Linked DNA regions of Homo sapiens: all the other regions are linked to region 2. Evidence: promoter capture Hi-C in human tissues and cell types (Jung and others, 2019). All regions are on one chromosome and are shown on one strand. The core of a region is centred on a gene start or on the middle of the fragment in contact, and the rest is flanking DNA. Distances in the headings are between cores, read along the strand shown.

The links. Contacts are between HindIII fragments. The study calls those that stand out against the background at their distance.
Region 1: a fragment that was not itself captured here is called in contact with the fragment with the promoter of C3orf62 in region 2 in 16 of the 25 tissues and cell types used here (IMR-90 fibroblasts, aorta, bladder and 13 more).
Region 3: a contact is called between a fragment that was not itself captured here and the fragment with the promoter of C3orf62 in region 2, in 2 of the 25 tissues and cell types used here (pancreas and stomach).

Annotation. Positions count from the first base shown.
Region 1 is chr3:49,136,803-49,139,502 of GRCh38, reverse strand. The region is part of intron 1 of LOC124909377 (a long non-coding RNA gene); the gene reads right to left. Among named protein-coding and RNA genes, the nearest start is that of LAMB2, 5.1 kb to the right of the region's middle. The HindIII fragment of the contact is 9,716 bases long and covers 1-2,700 here.
Region 2 is chr3:49,275,870-49,278,569 of GRCh38, reverse strand. C3orf62 (chromosome 3 open reading frame 62) reads left to right here and starts at 1,338. Exons shown (of 3, transcript NM_198562.3): 1 at 1,338-2,143. The coding sequence starts at 1,698. It overlaps USP4 (ubiquitin specific peptidase 4), which reads left to right. Exons shown (of 22, transcript NM_003363.4): 22 at 119-1,426. The coding sequence ends at 277. RefSeq lists a silencer at 1,315-1,514 and an enhancer at 1,655-1,724. The HindIII fragment of the contact is 22,568 bases long and covers 1-2,700 here.
Region 3 is chr3:49,076,720-49,079,419 of GRCh38, reverse strand. QRICH1 (glutamine rich 1) reads left to right here. Exons shown (of 10, transcript NM_198880.3): 2 at 2,382-2,700. The coding sequence starts at 2,403. Among named protein-coding and RNA genes, the nearest start is that of QRICH1, 16 kb to the left of the region's middle. The HindIII fragment of the contact is 7,025 bases long and covers 1-2,700 here.

The sequences.
Region 1 (2,700 bases), core at 107-2,606, 140 kb after region 2:
AGTAGCTGGGACTACAGGTGCCCGCCACCACGCCCGGCTAATTTTGTTTTTGTATTTTTAATAGAGACGGGATTTCACCATGTTAGCCAGGATGGTCTCAATCTCCTAACCTCGTGATCTGCCCGCCTCAGCCTCCCAAAGTGCTGGGATTACAGGCGTGAGCCACCGTGCTCAGCCCCTTCAGACATTTTTTTTTGAGACGGGCTCTCACTCTGTCACCCAAGCTGGAGTGCAGTGGCACAATCTTGGCTCATTGCAGTCTCAACCTTCCAGGCTCAAGGGATCCTCCCGCCTTATCTCCTGAGGAGCTGGGACCACAGGTGTGCCCCACCATGTCCAGCTAATTTTTGTATTTTTTGTAGAGATGGGGTTTTTCCATGTTGCCCAGGCTGGTCTTGAACTCCTGAGCTCAAGTGATCCACCCACCTTAGCCTCCCACAGACCTATTATTTTTTCAGAAATAGGGTCTCATGGGTCAGGCACAGTGGCTCACGCCTGTAATCCCAACACTTTGGGAGGCCGAGGCGGGTAGATCATGAGGTCAGGAGTTTAAGACCAGCCTAGCCAATATGGTGAAACCCCGTCTCTACTAAAAATACAAAAAAAAAAAAATTAGCCAGGCATGTTGGCGGTTGCCTGTAGTCACAGCTGCTCAGGAGGCTGAGGCAGGAGAATTGCTTGAACCTGGGAGGTGAAGGTTGCAGTGAGACGAGATCGCACCACTACACTTACAGAGCGAGACTCTGTCTCACAAAAAAAAAAAAAGGAAAAGAAATAGGGTCTCACTCTGTCACCTGGGCTGGAGTACAGTGGCATGATCTTAGCTCACTACAGCCTCAACCTCCCAGGTTCAAGTGATCCTCCCACCTCATCCTGCTGAGTAGCTGAGACTACAGCACACGCCGCCACACCTGGCTAATTTTTAAATTTTTTTGTAGAGACAGGATCTCCCTATGTTGCTCAGGCTGGTCTCAAACTCCTGAGCTCAAGTGATCCTCCTGCCTCAGCCTCCCAAAGTGGTGGGGTTACAGGTGTGAGTCACTGCACCTGGCCCATCCTTCAGGTCTCTCGAAGGTAAGGCTAGAGCTAGTGTCATCTGCTCTCTACCCTGACCCTATCTCTCCTCTGCAGCCTGTGCCTGTGACCCACAGGGCTCCATCTTGCCCAGCTGTGATTCACACATGGGCACCTGCTTCTTCAGAGAGGGCATCTTAGGGCTGAGGTGCCAGGCATGTGCTCATGGCTCCAGAGGTGCCTTCCCACACTGCACCTCCTGTCCCACCTGCTTCACCTTCTGAGACCAACTCCTGGCTCTGCTCCCACTGCAGCTGGAAGCTGTGGCCCAAGAGGTGGCCACCCTATGCTAGGGGATGCCTGGTGGGGGTGTTAGGGGCCAGGGTGGACACCTGCAGGTCCTAGATTGGGTACTGTAGCAGGCACAGGCTGCTCCCTCCAACCTGGGACCCTGCCCACTGTTCAGTGGGCTCTTGTTGCCTTCCACAACTCCTCCCATAGCCTGGACATAGAGTCACAGCCTTGGAGCAGCATCAACAACAGGTACACAGCCAGGGGGACTGTGGGTGGGAGCCATGGGGGAGTCACAGGAAACCATGGCTTGGACATGGTGTTGTAGGCAACATATTCCACATCTGACCCACGCCCACCAGCTGCAGCAAATCCAGGCCATAGCAAGCTCCACAGGAATCCAGGCACAGGAGACATGGTATTGGGAAAGGGGACCTTGGGGCATGACTGCCATGACCCACATGCAAGCAGCCGTGCAGATCATCCAGCGCTTCCTCATGGGTACATATCTGCTTGTTGCATGTCTGTTCACAGCCAAGGGCAGGGTTAATAGGGTATGCAGGACACTATCATGATACTCCTTCCAGAATGAGGAATATTCATCAGGGCTGACCAGGGGTCAAGTGGGAACACTAGTGTGTGCGTAAATTTTTTTTTTTTTTTTGAGAGGGAGTCTTGCTCTGTCACCCAGGCTGGAGTGCAGTGGTGCAATCTCGGCTCACTGCAACCTGCGCCCCCCGGGTTCAAGCGATTCTCCCACCTCAGCCTCCCAAGTAGCTGGGATTACAGGCACACTGTAATTTTTTTTTGTATTTTTAGTAGAGACGGGGTTTCACCATCTTGGCCAGGCTGGTCTTGAACTCCTGACCTCATGATCCACCCGCCTTCGCCTCCCAAAGTGCTGGGATTACAGGCGTGAGCCACCGCATCTGGCCATGTGTGTAGATAAATTTTTAACAACTGGCTGTGAGTCAGGGGAAACTGATTTTTAGCATTTGTCAATATCCATGATGTAAGTAATGCTATCATGATTGATTTCAGTCCATACCATTTGACAACTTATTTGCAAAATTCCTGAAAATTTAACAATTGGCTCTTTTTATTTTAGTATTATTATTATTATTTTTGAGAGGGAGAGTCTCGCTCTGTCACCCAGGCTGGAGTGCAGTGGCGTGATCTCGGCTCACCACAACCGCCACCTCCTGGGTTCAAGCGATTCTCCTGCCTCAGCCTTCTGAGTAGCTGGGATTACAGGCACCCGCCACCACATCCAGCTAATTTTTGTTATTTTTAGTAGAGATGAGTTTTCACTACATTGGCCAGGCTGGTCTCAAACTCCTGACCTTGTAATCTGCCTGCCTTGGCCTCCCAAAGTGCTGGGATTACCCTTTTTTT
Region 2 (2,700 bases), core at 89-2,588:
GGGTCTCCTCTGTGTGGATATGGCAGATCCTTGAGGGTTTTGGACAGCTAGAGAAAAGCTGGGGAAAATGGGTGATTTTTCCAAGCACTGAATGGTCTTTCCCCCTCTTGTATTTCAGACTAAAGCAGCTTATGTGCTATTTTACCAACGTCGAGATGATGAATTTTATAAGACACCTTCACTTAGCAGTTCTGGTTCCTCTGATGGAGGGACACGACCAAGCAGCTCTCAGCAGGGCTTTGGGGATGATGAGGCTTGCAGCATGGACACCAACTAATGCTGACTCCACGATCCTGCCACCCTGTAGCGCCAGTGTAATCCCCCAGGAGAACATCTTTGACACTCTGCAGACTGCTAGTGTTCTGTCTAAAAACCAGACAAGGAAATACCCTTCTTTTATGAGCAGAAGGAAACAAAAAAAAAAAAAGAAGACCGTTTACCTAGAAGAAGCTATGTCAAGAGGCTGAATTATTTTTATTTTTAAACAGGTGGTGAGAAATTTCTGTGAAACCTGTGAAGCTGAAAAGGGGGTGGGATGGGGGTACTCAATGGAGTATGTCTGATGGATCCCGAAGAATGGAGAGGAACACAGGCGCTGAGTATGGAGCAGCCTGGAGACCCACCCCACCTGCAGGGCTGCCCTGAGCGCCTGGATTTCTGGTTCTGATGCCAATACTAGTCACCCCAAGTAGTCTGCTCACAGTAACCCAAACCTCAAGTAAACTCCCCTTTCCCTCGCTATGTGCACTGATATGGGTTTATAATTTTCTGAAAGTTACCCACTGAAGCCCATTTCTCCGTTGAGTCATCTTGTAATTTCCAGCTTTCTCCCCGCTAAGGAAGATATCTAGTGTTGGGGATCCTGGCCCCTCAACCTCCTGTGGAACCCAGCAGTTCTGTTATATCCCCTGCTACCCTAGATGAATTAAGACGGTTAAATACTGTGTGGAACTTTTATTAGATAACACACTTTTTATTAGATAACGCTTAAAGGAAGTCAGTACATAAAACTGCCCGGTGCTGTGTCCCGTCTAGTTGTTTCCATGTTGGCTTGAGAACAGAAATCTTTGTGGGAGTTAGCCGGGAAAGGGCTCCAGTTCATGGCGATTTAGGGTAGTAATACATTTTGGTGTTACCCAGATGCTTTCTAGAACGGGTTCTTTCCTCATCCCTGCCAAGACTCTTCCCGGGGCCCCCATTCGAAAGCCCCGTCCCCACTCCCACCGCGGGGCCAGCCGCTGCGTGTGGGCAAGGCCTTAAGGAACCGGACGTATGGGTCCGGGATTTTTTGTCTGACCTTCAACCTAATCCGTGGGGGTTTGGGGCCTGCGCGGGGCACGCGCATGCGATGACCGTTGGATGGGTCGGCGTCACTGCGCTGCGGGTGAGGACAAGGACGTGGCTGCCGACTCGCCAAAGGGGGGGTGCCGGTAGGGCCAGCGGCCTGGGAGCCGCGGTGGGGCGGGAGGCAGCGGCGGGGCGGGCCAGGAAGCTGTGGGAAGTGGGGCGGGGCGTCTTTGGGGCTTCTGGCAGATGGCGGGTTCCTCCGCGAGAGCCGAGAACCGCCTACTCCAGGAGGAAAGCCCGAGGGTTGTGGGTCCTGCTATAGCCAGGGCCAAGCTCCAGGAAATCGTGGCCATTCAGGGGTAGTTTGCAGCCTCATTTGTAACATTATTGTGTTGTCCTGTGCATTTCCAATGCATTACATAAAGACATGGTCGCTTTTAGGAGAAATGTCTGAAAAACTAAGAAGATGCAGAAAGGAACTGACTGCAGCCATTGACCGGGCCTTTGAAGGAGTTAGTTATTCCCAGGAGTGCACAGGCCAGCAGAGGCTGGAACTGAGCGCCGCGCCGCTCTCCTTCTCGCTGCCCGTGCACAGGCTCCTCTGCAGAAGACATCCTCTGGCAGCCTGCTCTTCTGCTGCTCCTTTTGCTGCTGTCCCATGTGCTCCTGAGAATGAGAACCCTGCCTTTGCAACAAACCATGCCCCGGTAAATGCAAAACCACATGCTCTGTGCCCCGAGAGAAAACCTCTAACCAGCAAGGAAAATGTATTGATGCATTCCTCCATTTTGGCACCTGAAAGAGAGTCTTGGAGAACTGCAGGAGAGGGGGAAAACTGGAGAAAAGAAAATTTAAGGTGATTCTAATTTTGATGGTTTAACAGCTACAATTAAGGGGATTCTTGTTTCTGAAAAAGTTGTTGAAGATCCTAGATTTAGTTCATGACAGTGCTCTTGCCTCCTCTTGGCAGCTCTGTGACTGCATTTGGGGAGTTGACAGACATTCTTCAGAATCTGGCCTAGGAAACAGTTATATTTTGTGTATATGTTCCAGTTGAGGGGCTAGTTGTCAATCGTTGATGTCAAAAACCAGTCATGGAAACCACTTTGCAGTACCCAAAGGGGTAGTGGATGTAAAATAACCGGGTTTTAAAAATAACCTTATTTTTTAAGTTGCAGAAACAAAAGTCTTAATTCCATCTTAACTCCTGTGTTTGAATCTGGACACTGGGGCCTTTGATACCCTCCTTTGCCCACATTAGGGAGAGGCTTAATTGAAGGCTGGGCCCTACTTCCTGGCTTCATCTTTGCCTCTGCTCCCCGCTCTTACCCCAGATCTTTTTGGACCATCACCAGGTCTCTTCTAGACTTTTTCTTCTCCCGAGTAACTTGAAATTGCCTGGTCCCAGGCACC
Region 3 (2,700 bases), core at 43-2,542, 200 kb after region 2:
TTATTTATTTTATTTTATTTATTTATTTCTTTTAACAGATGAAAGTCTCTCTAGGTTTCCCAGCCCAAAGACCTGGTCTCAAGCAATCCTCCACCTCAGCCTCCTGAGTAGCTGAGACTACATGTGTGCACCACTGTGACCAGCTGATAACTTAATTTTTTTGTTTGTTTGTTTGTTTGTTTTTTTTAGACAGAGTTACGCTCTGTCGCCTAGGCTGGAGTGCATTCGAGTGATCTCGGGTCACTGCAGCCTCGATCTCTGGGCTCAAGCAATCCTTCTACCTTAGCCTCCGTAGTAGCTGGGACTACAGGTGCATACCACCATACCCAGTTAATTTTTATATATTTTTTGTAGAGATGGGGTTTCTCCATGTTGCCTGGGCTGAGGTGGAAGGATTGCTTGAGTCCGTGGAGCTATGGATATTACAGAAACCAATTGGGTGGCTCACGTCTATAATCCCAGCACTTTGGGAGGCCGAGGCGGGAGGGTCACCTGAAGTCAGGAGTTTGAGACCAGCCAGGCCAACATGGCAAAACCCAGTCTCTACTAAAAATACATAAATTAGCTGGGCATGGTGGTGGGCACCTGTAGTCCCAGCTACTCGGGAGGCTGAGGCAGGAAAATCACTTGAACCTGGGAGGCTGCAGTGAGCCGAGATCGTGCCACTGCACTCCAGCCTGGGCGACAGAGGGAGACTCCAACTCAAAAAAAAAAAAAAAAAAAAAGGACAGGTGTGGTGGCTCACGCCTGTAATCTCAGCACTTTGGGAGGCTGAGGCAGGCGGATCACGAGGTCAGGAGATCGAGACCATCCTGGCTAAGATGGGGAAACCTCGTCTCTACTAAAAATACAAAAAAATTAGCTGGGCGTGGTGGTGGGCGCCTGTAGTCCCAGCTACTCGGGAGGCTGAGGCAGGAGAATGGTGTGAACCCAGGAGGTGGAGCTTGCAGTGAGCCAAGATCAAGCCACTGCACTCCAGCCTGGGCAACAGAATGAGACTCCATCTCAAAAAAAAAAAAAAAAAAAAAAAAAAGGAACCATAATTCTTCGTTTTCCACATTGAATTTCAAATGCAGCAGGTATATATGAAGCAACTACCATGGGTGAGCTATTCGGAGAGAACCAGGACATAGTCTTGTCTACCAAGAACTTAGAGCCTAGGTAGAAGAAAGGAGACGTTTACCCACATATTTTATATCTGTAACATAAGGTAGAGCATCTGGTCAGTCTAGTGTATCTATCCTGATTGCTCAAGGGAACAAATCACCTTTCCAGACATTCAGAATTGTCTGATAATCCTTTTTGGCAAAAACGTTCGCTTGTTTTCTGTTACTCTTTCATCCTGCTGCTACTTTTGTTCTGGAGGTCGGGCTGTTGAAGGGAGGATGGTACAAAGGTAGCAGCGACAGGGGTCAGCAGTCCACAGATTGCACACTTTTCCCTCAGATGATGAGAGTTAACTGTACGTCTGCAGGTTAATTCTTAAGGTAATTAAATACCTGATGAAAACTTGTAGAATTTATTTCTGAATTTTAGTAGTGACCTGGATATTTAAAGCACTATTTACCTTTTTTCCAGAATTATTTTAATAGTATTAGTTACATTTCTGTAGTGCTATCTATGTGCTAGATGATTTTCTAAATGCCTTATTTAATCCTTATGTCAACTGTGAGGTAAGTACTATTGTGTCCCCATTTACTCACAAGAAAACTAAGGTTAATTGACTTTTCTAGAGTTACATAATAAAGGAGACATAAAGTTGGGATTTGAACCCAGGCAGCCTGGCTCCAGAGTCCATGCTTTTAACCAGTAGTAAGCTGTGTTGCAAAAGAATGTGAGCACCACATGGCAAAATAGGATTTTTGGTTTTTCTGATGGGAGATGAAGAACATATCCTCTGCCTCTTGTGTCTTGCCACAACTAGGTGGCATACCTATCTCTGCTGTAGGAAATACTTGGAAATAAAACATATCCATAGGAATCCCTGCCCCTAGCTTCCTCCTTGCTTGGTGTCCTCTCTGTGATGGTCACAGAGCAGTTTTGCATGTGACATTTACTGTCCAGTGCTTGGCTCTGCAGAGAAGATGGGATTGACCTAGTGCTGGGTAGGAAGTGTGTTTTCAGCCTGTTTCATCCAGTATTGTGAAGCATGTGTTTGTTTTTTTGTTTTCAGTGTGATAGTTTTATTTAAGAAATGTTAATAGAAATAATTTTCAAACATCCATTAATTGAAAAAATAAGGTGGTATAATAAAACTTTATTTTTTGATTCTATATGTATACAGCTGCCCTGAATATATTCCACTCTTGTGCAAGGGTAATTGCTTCTGGGCATTTCCTGCTAAAAACAGTAACATAATTTTGACTTCTGTTTATTTCTAGGAACCCTAAGGACTCTGCAATATGAATAATTCCCTAGAGAACACCATCTCCTTTGAAGAGTACATCCGAGTAAAGGCACGGTCTGTCCCGCAACACAGGATGAAGGAATTTCTGGACTCACTGGCCTCTAAGGGGCCAGAAGCCCTTCAGGAGTTCCAGCAGACAGCCACCACTACCATGGTGTACCAACAGGGTGGGAACTGCATATACACAGACAGCACTGAAGTGGCTGGGTCTTTGCTTGAACTTGCCTGTCCAGTCACCACCAGTGTTCAGCCACAAACCCAGCAAGAACAGCAGATCCAGGTTCAGCAGCCGC